Regions from separate parts of the Homo sapiens genome. Here all the other regions are linked to region 2. Evidence: promoter capture Hi-C in 16 types of primary human blood cells and fetal thymus (Javierre and others, 2016). All regions are on one chromosome and are shown on one strand. The core of a region is centred on a gene start or on the middle of the fragment in contact, and the rest is flanking DNA. Distances in the headings are between cores, read along the strand shown.

Region 1 (3,659 bases), core at 343-2,842, 280 kb after region 2:
GAGGGAGCAACATATGCAAAAACTGAGAGAATTTGGCTTCGGGTAGGAAAGACAAGTAGTTCAGTATGTTTAAGACTGTCTAGTGGCCCAGAGAGAAGGTTGGCTGCATTAATGGGGGTTTTGAATGTAAGAGTGTGGACTTGATGCTGAAAGGAAGCTATTAAAACATTTATAAGCCGGAAGTGGCAAAATCAGACTTGCATTATTAAAAGATTATTATAGCATTAATGTGTTTAAAAGATCATCATGACTTCATTGTAGAGATTAAGGTTGGAGACCTGGAGACCATTTAAGAAGTTATTCAGGTAATCCAATCTGGAGATAGATAATGAATATTGCCCTGGGCAGTGGCAGTGTTTTGGAGAGAATTCCCTGGGCAGGGTGACTGCAGGGTATTTACACTTTAACCTAACTGGGCTGCTGGTTTTAACCATTGCCCTCTCTGGGAACTTGACTCCCTATAGAGTACCTATGTATCCTCTGTTAAAACACCCGTGGAGGATTGTATTCAGTTTATAGCATATTAGAATGCTACCTTCATACTTTCTTTAATTGTGTGTACACACAACTCCCAGTTGAGCCCTGTTTACTCTCATGTCCCTGGTGTTGACAAGAAATTAGTGGATATTATTAAACGTGTCCATGGAGGCAGGCATTCTACTGAGGAAAATAAAAACATATATTGATATTAGTTGATATGATATTATGGCGATATACTCAAGGCAGTAGTATTTTATCATTTAATATTAGACTTTTTTTTTTTTTTTGAGACAGAGTCTCTCTGTGTTGCCCAGGCTGGAGTGCAGTGGCGCTATTTAGGCTCACTGCAAGCTCCACCTCCCAGGTTCACGCCATTCTCCTGCCTCAGCCCCCCAAGTAGCTGGGACTACAGGCGCCCGCCACCATGCCCGGCTAATGTTTTTGTATTTTTAGTAGAGACGGGGTTTCACCGTGTTAGCCAGGATGGTCTCGATCTCCTGACCTTGTGATCTGCCCGCCTCGGCCTCCCAAAGTGCTGGGATTACAGACGTGAGCCACTGCGCCCGGCCAATATTAGACATTCTTAACCTCTGATAGTCCGTATTGAACAGATAACAGTTTCTCTATGCTCTTGTTGAGGCACCATTCCCTTTATGTGAATTAGGTGATATGTATATAAGCTTTATCTTAGTGATTTGCTTTTCTCTGTGAGACAGTTTGGATATGTAGTAAAGACAAAGGCTCTTAATTGACAAGAATGTAAAAACAAAAGTTTATGATTCTTTTTTAGAATATAAGTTGTTTTGTGTTTTGAAGAAGCATGATACAAGTAAGCTATACATATAAAAGTTGTGACCATTTGAAGGTCTTTTGGGGACAGTATAAATTTCTTTTGATCAAACGAAACGGGAAAAAACACAAACTTGCTTTTCAAAATGAATAGTTAATTTTTGCTTCTGTTGTACCCCATCTGAGGAGTTTTCACCATCCCTATTTGAGGATTGGGAACTCATGAATACAATGGGCGGCCTAAAAGGAACAAACATTTAACATTTAACAGTAGAATGATGACTATCATTGATTAGTAGTAATCATTGTTTTTGTAATACTTTCAGTTGTAACAGATATTTTTATAAGAATGCACAATAAGGTAATGTCATTAAAATTTAAAATTTAAATAGGCATTATTTAATGAGGTAGCAGTGTCTGAGAAAAGTCAAAAGAATTGTTTAGAGTTCTGTAGTGAGTTGAACCCAGCTGTTTTGACTCTGAATACTGTATTTTCCTAAGTCAAAAGACAGTATCAGTGAACGTATTTAAGGAGGACTGTATCTGTTAGGGATGGGATAGAAAGGATTCTTGCCTTGGATAATAGGGAGCTTCAAGTGACTGGCAACTGCTAAGATCTGTTTCAAGTAACATTTTCTTTGCATCTAAACTCCGTTTTTGAAATTTAGATCATTTGGCTAAGATTCTAGTTAATGTGTTTTTCTTTTTTTTTTAATCATACCCGCTTCTGGTGTGTGCTACATTTAGCAATAAAGAAAAGCTTGTTTACTTCATTGTAGACTGAGCTTTGGAGAGATCTGATATGTTGTTTCGGTGTTTTTTTGTTTTTTTTTTGTGAGAAAGACTCAAATATATTTGTGAGATTTGATTAGATCAAAGACTGAATGATGTGCATCTCAGTTATAAGTGGATATAAATTCTATCTTTTATTTGAAGTCTAAGGGAGATAGGGGTGAGAAAGGAAATTACTGTTTCTACAACCATCCCAAATTTCATTGTAGGCTTTGCACTACAGTAATAAATCGAGATAACTAAATTTGCCTAGCTAAGATGGATAGATTTATTGGTTCCATTTTAAAATTTTTATATGAATAAGTAAACTGCTACCAGTTGCGTATATTTCATCTCTTCTAATAATGTTTTATTGCCATCTGCTCCCCTGCATTTTGACATCATTAAACTAAACAGCCCTCTTGCCGTAAAGCCCTGACTGGAGCTGTCCATTGTCAAAACTGGGGTGTGAAACATGTAAATATGCCCATCTCCTTACATAACAAGTAGATTTTTGTTTCTGATTCTCAGGAAAAAATAAAAGTAACAACCATTAATTGCCTGTTTTCTTTTTCTTCTAATTGTTCCTTCATTGAAATTTATTTGCGTGTTGGAAGCTTTCCAGTGCTGATGCAAGGCTTCATCTGTGAAAGCTGTTCTTTCTCCCCATTTTCTTCTCTTTCTGAGATTAAAATATTAAACTTTTTATAAGGCAGACATCTACATTTGTTCATATATGCTTTTCATAAAGAATTGTTCTATTAATTGATGCATATGGTTTAAACCAAAGTTTGGCAAATGGTGTTCCTTGGTCACATCTGGCCCACCACTGATTTTTGTGAATGAAGTTTTGTTGGAAAACAGCTACGGTACGGTTGTTTACGTATTGTTTATGGCTGATTTCATGCCACAATGGCAGAGTTGAATATTGCAAGAGTCTGTAAGGCCCACAAAGCCTAAAATATTTATTCTCTGGCTCTTTACAGAAAAAGTTTTGTTAACACTGGTTTTCAAACGCATGAATAAGAATAACAATGCTTGATAATTCTGCATGGTTAGTTGCAGACTTTATTGACAGCCATCAGCACCCTTGGTAGCACTAGTCCTGAGATACTGTGATTGCCTATTTGCTTGTCTGTAGTGTCTTTAAGAAGATAAACTCTTTCTGGGCAGATATCTTATCCTTAAATGTATCTTCCACACCAGAAGAATTCTTACATCTAAAACGTTGTATGTACTAAGTAGTTGTTGAATGAGTGGATGTTTTATTTTTTAACTATGTAAGATCTTATGTCAGAGTGTAATAATAATTGACATGTATGAAGCATTTCTTACAGATTCAAGGAAGTATAAGTAAACACTTTTACTACTTCATTGAATCCTCTCACCCTTTGAGGTAGTTATTATTGCTGTTTTACAGATGAGGTAACTTAAGACCCAGAATGATGACATTTCTAACATCACAGCTAGAAAGCCCAGAACTAGGAGCCTATGTATCTTGAAATTTAGTTTTTATGCTAGATGTGCTGCTTCTTCCACCATAAAATAGCTGACCTACCATCTCTGCTTTTAAAAGATGCTAAATTCAAACATAACTTTGAAAAATGATAAAGTATCAT
Region 2 (3,233 bases), core at 630-3,129:
TGCCTCAGCCTCCCCAGTAGCTGGGATTACAGACGCCCACCACCGCGCCCAGCTAATTTTTGTATTTTTAGTAGAGACGTGGTTTCGCCATGTTGGCCAGGACCTCCTAACCTCAGGTGATCCGCCAGCCTCGGCCTCCCAAAATGTTGGGATTACAGGCTGAGCCACCTCGCCCGGCCAAACTTTTTTTTCTTTATAAATTACCCAGTCTCAGGTATGTCTTAATCAGCAGCGTGAAAACTAACTAATACAATGCTGATTTATTTCATCTGATTAATTCAATCCCAGAGGCAATTTTAACATAATCATTGAAAAAATTACAAACTTTTATAATAAAACAATTTAACAATATATTATTCCGTATACTGCTGTAAAAGCACAGTAAAAAATAGTCTCAAAAATTCTAGTCTCTGTGCCAGAAAGATGACAACAATCCAATTTCAACTCTCTGACAACACAGGCTAATCAATATCCAATGCCTATACTAAACATCTTAATAAAGACTTCAGCCGAAATATTTTTAGTTCAAAAAAGAGAACTTTTGGAATAATTTTGTTAGATAGAAAACTTACAAATGAGGAATTAAGTATTGACCATTCTACAGTTCAATACAAAATGTTAGCCAACGTAAGCTCTTACTCTTAAATACGACACATCAAGAATTCAAACATATTTGGGCATTCCAGACACAGTTTTTTACATGCTTAGTAATTGCGCAATAATCTGAGTTAGAGATATAAAAACAAAGATTACTTGTGAATTTGCTATAGCTCTTCTTTGAGTTTAAGATGCAGATCTTAACTTGCCCAGTAATAAACTTATACAAAATGTAATGGCCTAGAGCATGTTTACACTCCTATTATATAGACCCTGGTGTTCTGAAATGTAAAAATTGGATTCAGACAGCAATCATGTGAGATACTATTGTTCACAGGGGAACTTCTTGCATATACTGACATTAAAACAGCTTTTTATTACCCCTAACATTTGATGGTAAAGAATGTTAATTTCCCTCATTTCACAGTGTCCCTGGGCATTTCAAGTTCAATTCTGGAAAAGTTGCCAGGTTGGAGTTAAATTATAGGACAATAGAGAAATAGAAGAATTGTTGTTGACTGAGTAAGATATTGATTTCAATCAAGCACTGGATGTTTAACTTTGAATTAGCAAGCTGAAAGCTCTATTTTTTTTTTTTTTATCAAATATCAACTAAATGTCATTTTAAGTGACTGTTTCACATTAAAGCCAAAGCAAGAGGAATAACTGAAATATCCTTTGGGAGCTGTGAGTTGAAATTCCTGGCCTGGGGTAAATCCCTTAAACCATCTCTGAAGCCAAAAGATGATAGGTTGCAATTCTTATCAAAACATGGAGATGCTTCAACAAAATGTGCCTTAAAATAATATAAAATATTACCAGTAAAAGTCTTAAACTTTAAAGCAAAGGAAAGAAATTGAACAGCCATGAGATAATATTCTCTACTCCATCAATCCAAGTTATTGAAGAATCACTTGGGAAAATTCTGGAAGTAGTAACAAACCCTGATTAAGACAGGATTTTTCCTCTAGCATTGATTATATTTTCTATGTTAAAATCCACTTGAAGAGATCTTCTTAAATCTCCTGTACCTATATTTCCTTAAAAATGACTATTTGAGTTTCACATATTCGCATATATGGAGAGGTTCTGGGTAAGACAAGGTCAGAGTGAGCACCATCATGAAAATAGCTCACAAGACAGTTAGTCACAAACAGGATATGAGAATAATAAAAACTCTGAAGTAAAGAGTAAAGCATATCTCATTTATTACCTATGTGGAGTTCAGTAATATGACTTACCTGTGTTATGTCTCTCGGGAGTCTGCAGTGTCTTGTATCCCTGGGTATGTGACTGTGCCTTGGGTTTATATGACGAGTAAGTGATAATCACGAGCCAGTGAGAGGACAGGCAACTTCCTTCTACCTAACGCTCTTCCTTCTTTTCTTAGATAAAACATGCATGCCAGGCAGTTCAAGCCTGCGAAGACTGCTGGTTATACAGGATATCTGGGTATAAATAAACCAACACATTTGTATACAAGGTAAAGTCAAAGTTATAGCTGCATATGTATGCCCACTGTTACATGTTCACTTATTTTCAGTTTTACACCATAGGCTCCTGGAGAATAAGAAAACCTGAATGTAATGAAATCATCTTTGCAGATGTGCACATGACTTGCTTCTCTATTTTAGAAACAGTCTCTCCTGTACCTGCTGTATGTTCCTTCGAGGCAGTGTCTAACAATGTGGTGTATTTAACTTGTTTGTTTTTGGTTTCTCCCAGTGGAATGTAAGCTCTGTAAAGGCAGGCACTTCACTGTCTTTTTCACTATTGTCTCCTCAGTTCTAAGAGGAGTGCCAGGCATGTCATGACCACTAATATACATCTGATGATAGAATAACCCTAATTTATAGTTCACGTTTTTGCAAGGACTGTAAATTTGCATTGTTGCTGGTTTATTTCATTTACTCTCATTTCTCAGAAAAGCCAAAGTGTTTAAAGTAAACCTGGTGTAGAAGTTTCCAATTCATCTTGTTTGTGATCCTTTTACAATTTAGTAACAAATGCCTGACATTTTAGAAATTTATTGTTTCACTTCTTAGTGCAGGAATTATTTTTATCTATAATATTAGGACAGCTCAGTGAAAAGATCCAATAAAATGCCTGCCTGGGCCTTACTGAGCCTGAGGATTATCCATGAAACATTTCAATGACCAGCTGGCTTTCAACTTCCAGAAAATTACTCCCACAGGCAACAATAGCAACATATCAATCATTTAATATTTCTTATTTCTAAAGTGCTTTTAATTTTGAAAAATATGTTTACATCCACTTAGTATAAACGTCAGAAATGAAAATAAATGTAAATACTAGTATGTAAAAAGAGAAGACGCAAGTGTAGCCCTTTACCCACCAAAAAAGGATACATGTGTGTCAAAATCAAGTGCAAATGGGATGGGAGTGGGAGCTATACAAAATTAACACAATGCATTTATTATCTTTGACAGCTTTAACTTATATTTTCAAAAAAATCTTTTTATCCTCACCTCAATGATTTTTAATCCCTATTTTTATAAATGAGGAAACTGAGACATAGGGAAATTAGGTAAATTGCCTGCGAATTTTTGTTGGGACAAGCTAGGATTAAAATCTAGGCCTTCTGATGACACATTTAATATTTTTCCTTACATAAT
Region 3 (3,303 bases), core at 15-2,514, 260 kb after region 2:
TCATAGTTACAAATGAGCAAACTCAACATATTTATTGTCAGGAAGCCAGCAGAAAATACTTATTTTTTTCACATGCCTAGCAGTTTCCTTGGCTAAAATAAATAGCTTTGCTATGCCAGTGAACCCCAAAAGGGCAGAATCTAGCTATGACTCTGATATATTCTAGTTTCTGCTTAGCAATATTATTACATAAAAGTTTGCTTTGTGGAAGTAGAATACCAAGGACAATTTATTGTCATTTTCCTCCTTTACCTTTTAATAAAACGTATATTTCAAGGTTTGTGAATTTTTCCTCTTATTGAAAACTCGTCGTGTGGGTATGTAATAAGTCACTAGTCTATTTGATCATTTTATCATATTTATATTCAGAAATAGGAAGCATTTAAAATTTTAATTGAAGATGCCATTTTTATGTTGTAAAAGAAAATGTTTGCATTATTTTTAAGATTTTTTTAAGGTTCGCCTTTGTGACAGATTTCTTCTTAGAACATAGTTTGCATATAATTCCATCAAAATCTGGATGACCCAAATTAACATTTTGAAATTTTATTACTGATAGAGAACTTTACCATCCTGCAGCCTGGTTTCTTTTTGAGACGGAGTTTCGCTCTCTCATCCAGGCTGGAATGCAATGGCAGGATCTTGGCTCACTGCAACCTCCGCCTCCCAGGTTCAAGTGATTCTCCTGCCTCAGCCTCCCGAGTAGCTGGGATTACAGGCACCCACCACCACACCCAGCTAATTTTTATATTTTTTTTAGTAGAGACGGAGTTTTGCCATGTGGGCCAGGCTGGTCTTGAACTCCTGACCTCAGGTGATCCACCTGCCTTGGCCTCCCAAAGTGCTGGGATTGCAGGTGTGAGCCACCACACCAGGCCCCTGCAGCCTGGTTTTTGTTCTCCTCATTCCACTGAAGTTATTCTAACCATGGGTGCCAGTACAGTAGCTCCACCATATACCAAAGTACTAACTTTAGTAAATTACCAAGGATAATTTTAGTACCAGGGTTGAAAGATTATTGGAAGGATTAAATATGATGATACATATTAAGCGATGAAAAAATATTTGCTTTTATTATTAACAAATGATTTACATGTAAGTTAAAAAATGAAGTAAAAGTAATAATATTATCATTAATGACCAAGAGCCTGAATCCTGGAAGAACTTAGTTTGTTCAAGACATTGTACAGGTAGTCTAATGTGACTGGAGTTCAGTGAATAAAGGGAAAATTGGTGTGGAAAGATAATTGAGAGGTTGATCATAACAGGTCATTTGGGGATTTTGTAGAGAATGTTAAGCACTTTGGGTATTATCCTAACTGCAGTAGGAATTTGTTGCAAGGTTTTAATCAAAAGAATGATTTGATAAAATGTGTTTTGTTGTTTTTTCTTAAGGCACATGGGCTATACTAAACCATGCCAGAAAACACAGGGGCTGGAAGGGGCAGGATTTGGCAAGAGAGGAAGCAAGAGAGCAGTTAGACAGTTCTTAAATCACTAGTATAAGTTAGTGCTTATCATAGTCTGGATGAGAGAGGGTGGTAGCAGAGAAATGGGGTAGATGGATGGCGTAATGAGAAAAACTTGGGACTGTAATGCCCCCCCAACCCTCCGCAAACTGGGAAAACTGGGACGTTGCCAAGAGAATGACTCAGACAAGTCCAGCTTGATGAGTAGATGAGTTTATTAGGACATACATACAGGGCACTGCTGGACAGCAGCAGTATGGCTCCAAGAGATCCACACCGCCTCCCATCTCTAGGCTGCTTTTAAGCTAATTTTCTGGCTCTTTGCCGTGTATGTGTGTGCGCACGCGCGCGTGTGTGAGTGTGCTGGGACTTTTTTCCTTGGTATATTCCCAGCCATGCCTCAGGATGTTTGCGTTCTCAGGGACCCCTGCTTCTCGGCTAGGCACCATGGCCTTAGCTAACTGCCTGGCCCTCAAGTTTCAAGCATTGAATATAACACCCTTAAGTAACCTGGTAGGGGACCCATCACACCACTGATAGATTAAAAATATAAATTTGGAAGTAGAGTCATTTGGACATGGTGAAAGATGATTTGAGACAGAGAGATATTAGAGGTATTAATAACTAAAGGGCAATTCAAAATATGGGCTACTGCTCATAGGAGACAGCTGGGCTAGATATAAATCTGGACATTAGGTGGTGTTAAAGCTACAGGACAGAGTAATGTCACTGTACTAATGATAGCAGAGTACAGAGAAATAAAGCCTAGGACAGAGAACTCTCGGGCAACAGAATAGCCAGTGAAATACTACTAAAAACAGGCAGGTAAATAGGGTTGAGGCACAAATGACAGGAAAAGAGAAGCAGTAGTCAATTGAGCCAGACACTAAGTAAAATGAGGAATGTGCACAAAAAGACAAATATTGTATGATTCCACTGATAGGAGGTATCTAATGTAGTCATCTTCGGGTCAGGCTTAGGAGGTATCTAATGTAGTCATCTTCGGGCTGGGTGTGGTGGCTCACGCCTGTAATCCCAGCACTTTGGGAGGCCAAGGCAGGCGGATCACTGGAGGTCGGGAGTTCGAGACCAGCCTGACCAACATGGAGAAACCCCGTCTCTACTAAAAACACAAAAATTAGCCAGGCGTGGTGGCACGTACCTGTAGTCCCAGCTATTCAGGAGGCTGAGGCAGGAGAATCGTTTGAACCAGGGAGGTGGAGGTTGCAGTGAGCCGGGATTGTGCCACTGTACTCCAGCCTGGGTGACAGAGTGAGGCTCCGTCTCCAAAAAAAGAATTAAAGTAGTCATCTTCATAGAAACAGTAGAATGGTGCTGGTTACCACAGGCTAGGGGGAGGGGGAAGGGGTAGTTGTTCAATGGGTATAGAGTTTCGAATATGCAAGATGAAAAACTTCTGGAGATCTCTTCCACAATAATGTGAACGTACTTCACACTACTGACTGTGCACTTGAAAATCGTTAAGATAGTAAGTTTCATGTTATGTATTTTTTACCACAGTTTTTAAAATGAGGAATGCAAATTGTCCATTGAATTTAGCCACAAGAAGGTCATCAGTGACCTTAGCAAGATGCAGTTTCATAGAGTGTTGGGGGTTGGGGTCTAGTTGAGATGGCTGAAGACTGACAGTCAAGTGAGTATAATGTTATTTCAGAGTCTGGCTGGTAAGTGGAACAGGAAAATAGAAAGTAAAGATAGTCTGTTGTTTTTAAGAGAAACTACTGCATTTTAAAAGAGGACACAAAGCATCCAGTAGAGAAGGAGAGATGGATTAATCGAGGCCACTGAGATTAAGGGAGGAGATGGAGTACAC

Evidence for each region. The method cuts DNA at HindIII sites, captures the fragments that hold promoters and counts their contacts. A CHiCAGO score of 5 or more calls a contact.
Region 1: a fragment that was not itself captured here is called in contact with the fragment with the promoter of HPGDS in region 2 in 1 of 17 cell types (M2 macrophages); the score reaches 5.3 in M2 macrophages.
Region 3: a contact is called between a fragment that was not itself captured here and the fragment with the promoter of HPGDS in region 2, in 3 of 17 cell types (M0 macrophages, M1 macrophages and megakaryocytes). The highest score is 7.1, in M0 macrophages.

The regions. Positions count from the first base shown.
Region 1 is chr4:94,624,704-94,628,362 of GRCh38, forward strand. The region is part of intron 8 of PDLIM5 (PDZ and LIM domain 5); the gene reads left to right. Among named protein-coding and RNA genes, the nearest start is that of BMPR1B-DT, 130 kb to the right of the region's middle. The HindIII fragment of the contact is 869 bases long and covers 1,159-2,027 here.
Region 2 is chr4:94,340,957-94,344,189 of GRCh38, forward strand. HPGDS (hematopoietic prostaglandin D synthase) reads right to left here and starts at 1,880. Exons shown (of 6, transcript NM_014485.3): 1 at 1,839-1,880. The HindIII fragment of the contact is 10,951 bases long and covers 1-3,233 here.
Region 3 is chr4:94,601,878-94,605,180 of GRCh38, forward strand. All of the region lies in intron 7 of PDLIM5 (PDZ and LIM domain 5), which reads left to right. Among named protein-coding and RNA genes, the nearest start is that of PDLIM5, 150 kb to the left of the region's middle. The HindIII fragment of the contact is 5,985 bases long and covers 1-3,303 here.